Linked DNA regions of Homo sapiens: region 2 is linked to region 1. The links are contacts of gene promoters, found by promoter capture Hi-C in human tissues and cell types (Jung and others, 2019). All regions are on one chromosome and are shown on one strand. Each heading gives the region's core, a stretch centred on a gene start or on the middle of the fragment in contact. The rest is flanking DNA. Distances are from core to core; before and after follow the strand shown.

Region 1 (4,290 bases), core at 502-3,001:
AGGCACAGAGAGGAAGTGGTTAAATCACTCATCTAAGGTCACACAGCTGCTGGGATTGGGGGGTGGGTGGGTGCTGAGAGAAGGTGAGGAATGAAGACTGCTCTGCAGGCAGAGGGAACAGCAAGAACAAAAGCTTGGAGGTGAGAACTAATTTGGTTTTTAAGGACTGAGGCCTCACGTGGGGTGGGATGAGATCTAAGAGGGGAGCCTCAAAAATTATCCTGTGTCCTGAGTACTTCCTGGGCCACCTTTGAGTAAGGAATTTAACCTCCCTATGGCCCAATTCCCTCACTACCTATCTCATGGGGTTGTGGTGAGGATTAAAGGAACTCATTCATATGAAACACTCTGCCTGATATACGGCAGGTGCTCAATAAACGCTAGCTCCTATTGGCATTACTATCATCACTGGCGCTAATGTATTCACTTATTGTAGTGAGGCAGAACGTCTTTGTGGTTACGAGTGTGACCAGGCTGACCCACTATTAAGAGGTGGAGGACAGGGAAGGCCGTACAGTGCTCCATCACAAGGAAAAGAGGATCAGCACGTTCTCTTCTGGGAAGGGAAAAAAAAAGAGAAGGAAATTGAAAGTACACGGCCGATCTTCCCCCAATTACAAAGCACTGGACTCACGGGAGGGTATGCGGGGGACTGTGCAAGCATACAGGGGTGTGGGGGAGGAAGGCCAATGAACAGATCCACTGCAAAGGGAGGGGTGATGAGGCTCATCGTCTGAGGGGAAGGGGAGCAGAAAACCTTACAGACTCCTGCACCACAGTGAGAGGAGAGAAAAGCCATCACACAGACTGATTCAAAGCAGAGAGGGAAAAGGCTATGGACTGAGCTACTGAAAATAGGGAGATGTAAAGCACTAAACTAACCCACTATTAAAAAGGAGAGAACCCCAAGCGCTAGAGCGACAGTCTACGAAAAAGAGGAGACAGGGCAATGGACTGATAGCTAAAGGGACGTGAATCCAAACATGAAGACTGATCCACTATAAAATGGTGGTGGTGGTGGTGGGGGGGGGGGGTGGTTTTGAAAAAAGCCATGGACTGATGCATTGGGGGACTGGAGGAGGCAGGAATACAAACTCAGGTAGACTCACTGTTAAAGAGGGATGCGGAGGAGTGCGGCGCCACGGATTGATTCGCTACGATGTACAGGAAGGGTGGAATAAATAAGGCCACGGACGGGTCTCCTGAAAGTTGAGGCTAGGAGAAATCCAAACACTCAGATACACCTACTATTAAGGGGGCTGAACACTGTCACAGGCTAGCTCCCTATAAGTGGGGGTGGGTGGGGGGCGGGTGGGGGTAGGGGTAGGGGGAAAGCCTATGGACGAGTCCACCCTAAGTTGGCGTGGGGAAAAACATAAGCACGCAGACCGATCCATTATACAACGGGAGGGGGAGGTTAGGCCACGGTCAGATCCACTATAAGGGACGAAGGGCTTGAGCAATGCCACACGCAGGTCCACCAGCCGTGGTGGTGGCGGCGGGGAGTCGAACACCAGCAGGCCACCGGCCAAGCCACATCCTCTGCGCGGGGGCGGGAAGGATACGTGGGGTCACGGACTGGGCCCTCCACCCTCCAGGCCCAGAGCTCACCTGTGTGTAGCGTGGCGGTGGCGTTGGCAATGTTGGCAGCTCCGGGGGGCGGGGGCTCCATACGCGGCCCCACCGCCCCCCAGGCCTGGGTTCCGAGGCGGCGGTGGAGGTGGTGGTGGCGGTGGCGGCGGCAGCACCTAGAAGCCGCCCCTGCGTTTCCCTACAGCTCACGTGGGCCCGAGGAGGAGGAGCCCAATGTCCCGCCGCTCGCTGATTGGCCAAAGCGCTATTAATCGGCCGCAAGGCCTCGAGGGGTTGGGGGACGGGCCCTTCCCTACAGAGCTGTGCCGTGATTGGCGTAAGGGGAAATGATGGAACGCTCACGGCCCCTGGAGTCCCGAGGAGGCGCGTTCGGCCTTCACGGTGCTCCACGCCGATTGGCTCAAGGACTGACGGACTGTGAGCAACTGAAAAGGCTCGGGGCCTGTGTCGGGGGGGCGGGGGTCTGCCTCACACTGATTGGCTTACATGGGATTGATGGAAGACAGCCCCCAAGGACGGGGGTGGGTGGCCCTGTTTTTCTCTGATTGGCGGACGAGGGACTTCTAGACCCCTGCCAAAACACCAAGGGGGCGGTGTCGCACGCCATGCTGCTCAGCGGAAGCAGGGCTTGTATAGAAATGGGCGTAGCAGCCGGCGGGAGTGGGTCGGACTGGGCTCCGCGTAGGCGGGCAGGGCAGCTCTACGGTTAGACAAGACCATAGAGCTGGGTAAAGACGAATTTAGAACACAGCGGAGGTAGGAGGGCAGGATGGCTGTCAGGCACACGAAAGAGCATTGAGTGGCAGAAACGAAATGCTTTCAGAGGGCAGGGTTGAACTGCGGCCAGAGTTAAAAAGGGGAGGAACCTGGCTCTGCATTGATTGGCGGTGGCTGGACTCAACCTAGAATAGGGGCCCGACTAGGGAGAGCGGGATCCAGGTCTGTGCCCATTGGAAGCTGGAACACTTACAAGCAGGGGCTAAGACAAGGTAGGGCTGAGTTAGGGTTTGGGTGTAATTTGGGGTACCTGGGGAATGATTGGGTGTGTGAAAGCGTAAACCTTAGGGCCCTTTGATTGTTGTGGGAATGAACAAACCTCCACCATGAATTGGCCCATTCTCTATGGCAATTCAAAGGGTGGCGTCTAGGAAAAGGAATGGAAGAAAGGGTGAGGTGGGGGGCCCAGGTTGCCAAGATGACAGAAGAGAGGGCAGTGCATAAGGTCAACTGGCAAATACTGCCAGGCAACAGGCTGGAGGCAGGACTGCTGGGGCATTTTGGAGGTTCCACAGAGAGACTGGATCTCTGGGTCTCTCAGTAACTTTGTGCCCTAGGAACAGGCCCCCGTGGCAACTAGCAGGGTTTATGGGGAAAAAGAAGGGCCATGTGACTCAAAGGCATTCAGGCTCTTTAATGTCTGAGGATGGGGGGAAGAAGTCAATGGTGAGGCTTCTCTGGGAAATTCTGCAGGCCTTGTAGTTCTCTAAGCCCCTGAAAAAGAGGACAGAAGAGATTGAACAAAGACTGGGTCTGGGTTACGCCCCCAGGCTTGCTCTGACCTCCCTCCCTTGACTCCAGTTTAGAGGGAAAGATGGTCCTTCCCTTCTTTCGCTCTCTTCCTTCTTCAGGTCACCACCCTAAACACAGAGTCTGGTAGTGGGGTGAGCTGCTCTCACCTCTAGCAACATGTGGATATGGGCTTTGATATTCATGGAGTCCTTGGTGAGGCTGTTGCTGAGCCTAGAGAAAAGAAACAAGAAAGGGCAAAATGGGCCCCACATGATTATGATGACCCTTCCTTATCACTTCAAGATCTACTTATATCCTGGATGATTTCCACCTGGCTCATTCCTATGTGGAAATGCCAAGCCACCATCTGGTTTTCACTGATTCAAAGATTATTAAATGCCTACTGTATGCCAGGCAATTTTAGGCACTGGGAGATAGCAGCAAACACAACAAACAAAACTCCCGGCCTGATGGACTTCAAATTCTTGTAAAGAAAGACATAACAAAAAACCAATGGAATAAAAGCTATGTGTCAGATGGTTCTAACTACAATAACAAAAATTAAAAATGAGAGACAATAAGGAGTACAGGAGTGGGGGGCTGCAATTTTAAAGAGGGCTCAGGGATGGCTTCACGGAGAAGCATTTGAGTAAAGACTTAAAGACAGTGAATTTTGAGTAGTGTGGCTATATGGAGGATGTGTTCCACACACAAGGGGCAGCAAACACAAAGGCACTGAGGTGGGAGTGTGCCTGGCATGTTTGAGGTGCAGCAAAGAGGCCACTCTGGCTGGAGAAGAATAAGTGAAGGGGGAATGTAAGAGGTGAGGTCAGAGAGGTAATGAGGGAGACAAACTGTGTGAAGCCTACAAGGCCATGGTAAGGACCCTGGCTTTGACCTTAAGTGAGATGGGAGCCAAGGGAAGGTTGCAGCAGAGGAAGGAGGTTGAATTACATGAACCAGTCAGTTGACTCCTTTTCTCTAAGCCAGTTTGGATCAGATCTCGCCCAAAAGAATCCTAATTGATATAAAGGGTCAAGGAAGGCCTTTCTCAAGAATGAAGAATGAGAAGGAATCGAAGAATGCCTAATGGTTAAGCAGTAGGAAGGCCTTTTCCACAAAAAGGACAAGAGGCAACAAAGAGCTGTTTGAGAAGCAGTGAGGTCAGAGTGTTAGAAATTGAGTGGG
Region 2 (4,290 bases), core at 1,040-3,539, 810 kb after region 1:
CCAGATGCTGGGTTTTCTAATAAAAAGACTTTAAATGAGCTATTTAAAATACGTCCAAAAACCTCAAAGAAACTATGTCTAAAGAACTAAAGTATAGAAACAATATCTCACCAAATAGAGAGTATCAATACAGACATAGAAATATAAAAAATGAACCAAATAGAAATTTCTGGAGTTTAAAAGTGTAATAATCAAAATGAAAAATTCATCTTCTGCTGATGCTAGGAGTAGGGACATTGCCCTCATCTCTTTTTGGGGTTCTTTCTGTTAAATATGAAGACTTGCTTTTTTTTCTTTTTGAGACAAGGTCTCACTCTGTTGCCCAGGCTGGAGTGAGTGGTGCAATCACAGCTCACTGCAGCCCTGAACTCCTAGGTTCAAACAACTCTCCCACCTCAGCCTCCCTGAGTAGCTGGGACTGCAGGTGCAAACCACCATGCCCGACTAATTAAAAAAAAAAAATTGGGGCTGGGCGCGGTGGCTCACACCTGTAATCTCAGCACTTTGGGAGGCCAAGGCAGGCGGATCACCTGAGGTCAGGAGTTTGAAACCAGCCTGGCCAACATGGTGAAACCCTGTCTCTACTAAAAATACAAAAATTAGCTGGGCACGGTGGCGCATGCCTGTAGTCCCAGCTACTCAGGAGGCTGAAACAGGAAAATCGCTTGAACCCGGGAGGCAGAGGTTGCAGTGTGCCAAAATCGTGCCATTGCACTCCAGCCTGAGCAACAAAGCAAGACTCTGTCTCTAAATAAATAGATAAATAAATAAATAAATAATAAATAAATAAATAAATATTGTGTAGAGACAGGATCTCACTATGTTGCCCAGGTTGGTCTCAAATTCCTGGCCTCAAGTCATCCTCCTTAGCCTCCCAAAGTGCCCAGATTATAGGCATGAGTCAAGACTTGCAGTTTTAAGGCCAGGTGCTGGAATTTCAGGTTACCATTATTATCAAAAAGAATGGTTTGTTGAGCTTAAGTTTAGTGGCAGTAAAGGGAGTGGACAAAGCTATATAAGAGCAATGTTTTGTATAGTATTGAAATTAAGTTGGTATCAATCTGAACTAGATTGCTAAAAATTAAGATGTTATTTTTAATCCCTAGTATGGTCTGAATGTGTCCCCTCCAAAACTCAGGTGTTGTCAATGTGACAGTATTAAGAGATAGGGTCTTTAAGAAGTGACTAGGCCATGAGGGGTTCTCCCTAATGAGATTAGGTGTCCTTATAAATGAGATGGAGGGAGTTGCTTCTCTCATGTCCTTCTGCCTTCTGCCATATGAGAATGCAGCAAAAAGCGCTGACCAGATGCTGGTGCCTTGATCTTGGACTTTCCAGCCTCCAGAACTGTGAGAAAATAAATGTCTGTTCTATACAAATTACCCAGTCTGAGGTATTCTATCATAGCAGCACCAAAAGACTACTAAAATCCCCTAAGTAGGACTTGCATCCCAAGGAAGTGTAAGACTTCTGCACTGAAAACTACAAAACATTGCTGAAGGAAATTAAAGACCTAAATAAATGGAAAGATAGCCCATTTTTCATGGATCGGAAGATTTAATGAAGTACTGATACATGCTGTGGCATGCATAAACCTTGAAAATATGCTAAGTGAAAGAAGCCAGACACAAAAGACCACAGTGTATGATTCCACTTATATGAATGCCAAGAATAGGCAAATCCGTAGGGACAGAAAGTAGATTCATGGTTCCCAAAGGCTGGGCGGAGTGGGGAGTTACTATTAATGGGTATGAGGTTTCTGGTGGGGGGGGGTTGTTGTTGTTGTTGTTTGTTTTTTTTGTTTTTTTTTTTTGTTTTTGAAACAAGGTCTCACTCTGTTGCCCAGGCTGGAGTGCAATGGTCCAATCCAGCTCACTGCAGCCTTGAACTCCTTAGTTCAAGCAATTCTCCCACCCCAGCCTCCCTGAGTAGCTGAGACTGCAGGTGCACACCACCATGCCCAGCTAATTAAAAAAAAAACTTAGGGACAGGATCTCATTATGTTGCCCAGGTTGGTCTCAAATTCCTGGCCTCAAGTCATCCTCTTGCCTTGGCCTCCCAAAGTGCTGGGATTACAAGCATGAGTCATCGTGCCCAGCCAAGACTTGCAGTTTGAAGGCCAGGTGCTGGAATTTCAGGCTACCGTTATTCTCAAAAAGAATGGCTTGTTGAGCTTAAGTTTAGTGGCAGTAAGGGATAAAGAACAGTGAAACAAGGAGCATATAGTATTAATCAACTACAGACAACTGCCCTATTTGTAAATAGAAGCAGGGAAATAATATATATGTGTAGTAGCTTATAAATGCGTAAAAATTATCTGGGAGGATAAGCAAATGTCTCTCAAACATCTAAAAGCTTCCTTCAGGCTGGGTGCGGTGCTTCATGCCTATAATCTCAGCAATTTGGGAGGCCGAGATGGGTGGATCACTTGAGCCCAGGAATTCGAGACCAGCTTGGGCAACATGGTGAGACCCCGTCTCTACAAAAAAATACAAAAAAGGCCGGGCGCAGTGGCTCACACCTGTAATCCTAGCACTTTGGGAGGCTGAGGCAGGCGGATCACGAGGTCGGGAGGTGGATCACGAGGTCGGGAGATCGAGACCATCCTGACTAACATGGTGAAACCCCGTTTCTACTAAAAATACAAAAAATTAGCCAGGTGTGGTGGCACACATCTGTAGTCCCAGCTACTCGGGAGGCTGAGGCAAGAGAATCACTTGAACCCGGGGAACAGAGGTTGCACTGATCCGAGATCGTGCCATTGCACTCCAGCCTGGGAGACAAGAGCAAGACTTCATCTAAAAAATAAAATAAAATAAAATAAAATAAAATAAAATAAGCCGGGTGTGGTGGCATATGCCTGTGGTCCCAGCTACTTGGGAGGCTGAGGTAAGAGAATCACTTGAACCCGGGAAGTTGAGGTTGCAGTGAGCTGTGATCTCACTACTGTACTCCAGGCTGGATGACAGTGAAACCCTGCCAAAAAAAAAAAAAAAAAACCTTATTTCATAAATACGGCTCATGCCTGTAATCCGAGCACTTTGGGAGGCCAAGGTGGGAGGATCACTTGAGCCCAAGAGTTTGAGACCAGCCTAGGCAACATAGAGAGATCTCATTTCTACTGAAAATTTTAAAAATTATCCAGGCATAGTGGCGCATGCCTGTAGTCCCAGCTACTCAGAAGGCTGAGGCAGGAGGATAGCTTGAGCCTGGGAGGCTAAAGCTTCAGTGAGCCGTGATGGCACCACTGCACTCCAGCCTGGATGACAGAGCAAGACCCTGTCTCAAAAACAGTTAAAAATTAAAAATTAAAGAATTAGAAATACACACACACACACACACACACACACACACACACGTATGTGAAGTGTAATGGCAATACCATTTTTTCTATGAGGTTGACAAAAATCTGTTGCATTGCTCAGGCTGTTGACAAGGCTGTGGTGAAAATGGCACTCACATACTCATGCTAGCTTCTCCTTGCTCTTGCTTGGACCAGCCATGCTCGTTCCTACCTCGGGGCCCTTGCACCTGTTGCTCCCTCTGCCTGGAACACCCTTTGCCAAAATAACCATGAGGCTTGCTCCTTTCAGCCAACCTAGGACCAAATTCATTGCCCCCTCCTTAGTGAAGTCTCGCTGAATGCCTCCTCACCCACCACCTCCCCACACCACTCTCACATCGCTCATTTTCTTCATTGCACCATCTTTATGAGGAATGATTTCTCTTTTATTCTCTTTGTTAGGTCAGAGGTCAGCTAACATTTTCTGAAAAGGGCCAGAGAGTTAATAGCTCAGGCTTTGCAGGCCATATGGTCTCTGTTGCAAATCCTCAGCTCTGCACGAGAAAGCCACAAACAATATGTAAATGAAGAAGACACTGTAAATGATATGTAAATAATTTAGACACTGAAATTGATATGTAAATGATTTAGACACTGAAATTTGAATTTCACATAATTTCCAAGTGTCACAGAATATTATTTCTTTTAATAATATTTTTTCATTTTCTTTTCTTTTTTTTGAGACAGAGGCTGGAGTGCAGTGGTGAGATCTTGGCTCACTGCAACCTCTGACTCCCAAGTTCAAGCGATTCTCCTGCCTCAGCCTCCTGAGTAGCTGGGATTACAGGCGCGTGCCACCATGCCTGGCTGATTTTTGTATTTTTAGTAGAAACGGGGTTTCACCACGTTGGCCAGGCTGGTCTAGAACTCCTTACCTCAGGTGATCTGCCCGCGTCGGCCTCCCAAAGTGCTAGGATTACAGGCATGAGCCACCACACCCAGCCCCT

The links. Contacts are between HindIII fragments. The study calls those that stand out against the background at their distance.
Region 2: a contact is called between a fragment that was not itself captured here and the fragment with the promoter of ELK1 in region 1, in 1 of the 25 tissues and cell types used here (aorta).

What each region holds. Positions count from the first base shown.
Region 1 is chrX:47,648,812-47,653,101 of GRCh38, forward strand. It overlaps ELK1 (ETS transcription factor ELK1), which reads right to left and starts at 1,752. Exons shown (of 7, transcript NM_001114123.3): 1 at 1,612-1,752; 2 at 1,110-1,215. It overlaps UXT (ubiquitously expressed prefoldin like chaperone), which reads right to left. Exons shown (of 7, transcript NM_004182.4): 6 at 3,270-3,333; 7 at 2,985-3,084. The coding sequence ends at 3,031. RefSeq lists a cis regulatory region at 1,215-2,195 and a silencer at 1,527-1,936. The HindIII fragment of the contact is 8,740 bases long and covers 1-4,290 here.
Region 2 is chrX:48,453,297-48,457,586 of GRCh38, forward strand. No RefSeq gene overlaps it. Among named protein-coding and RNA genes, the nearest start is that of SLC38A5, 15 kb to the right of the region's middle. The HindIII fragment of the contact is 4,106 bases long and covers 237-4,290 here.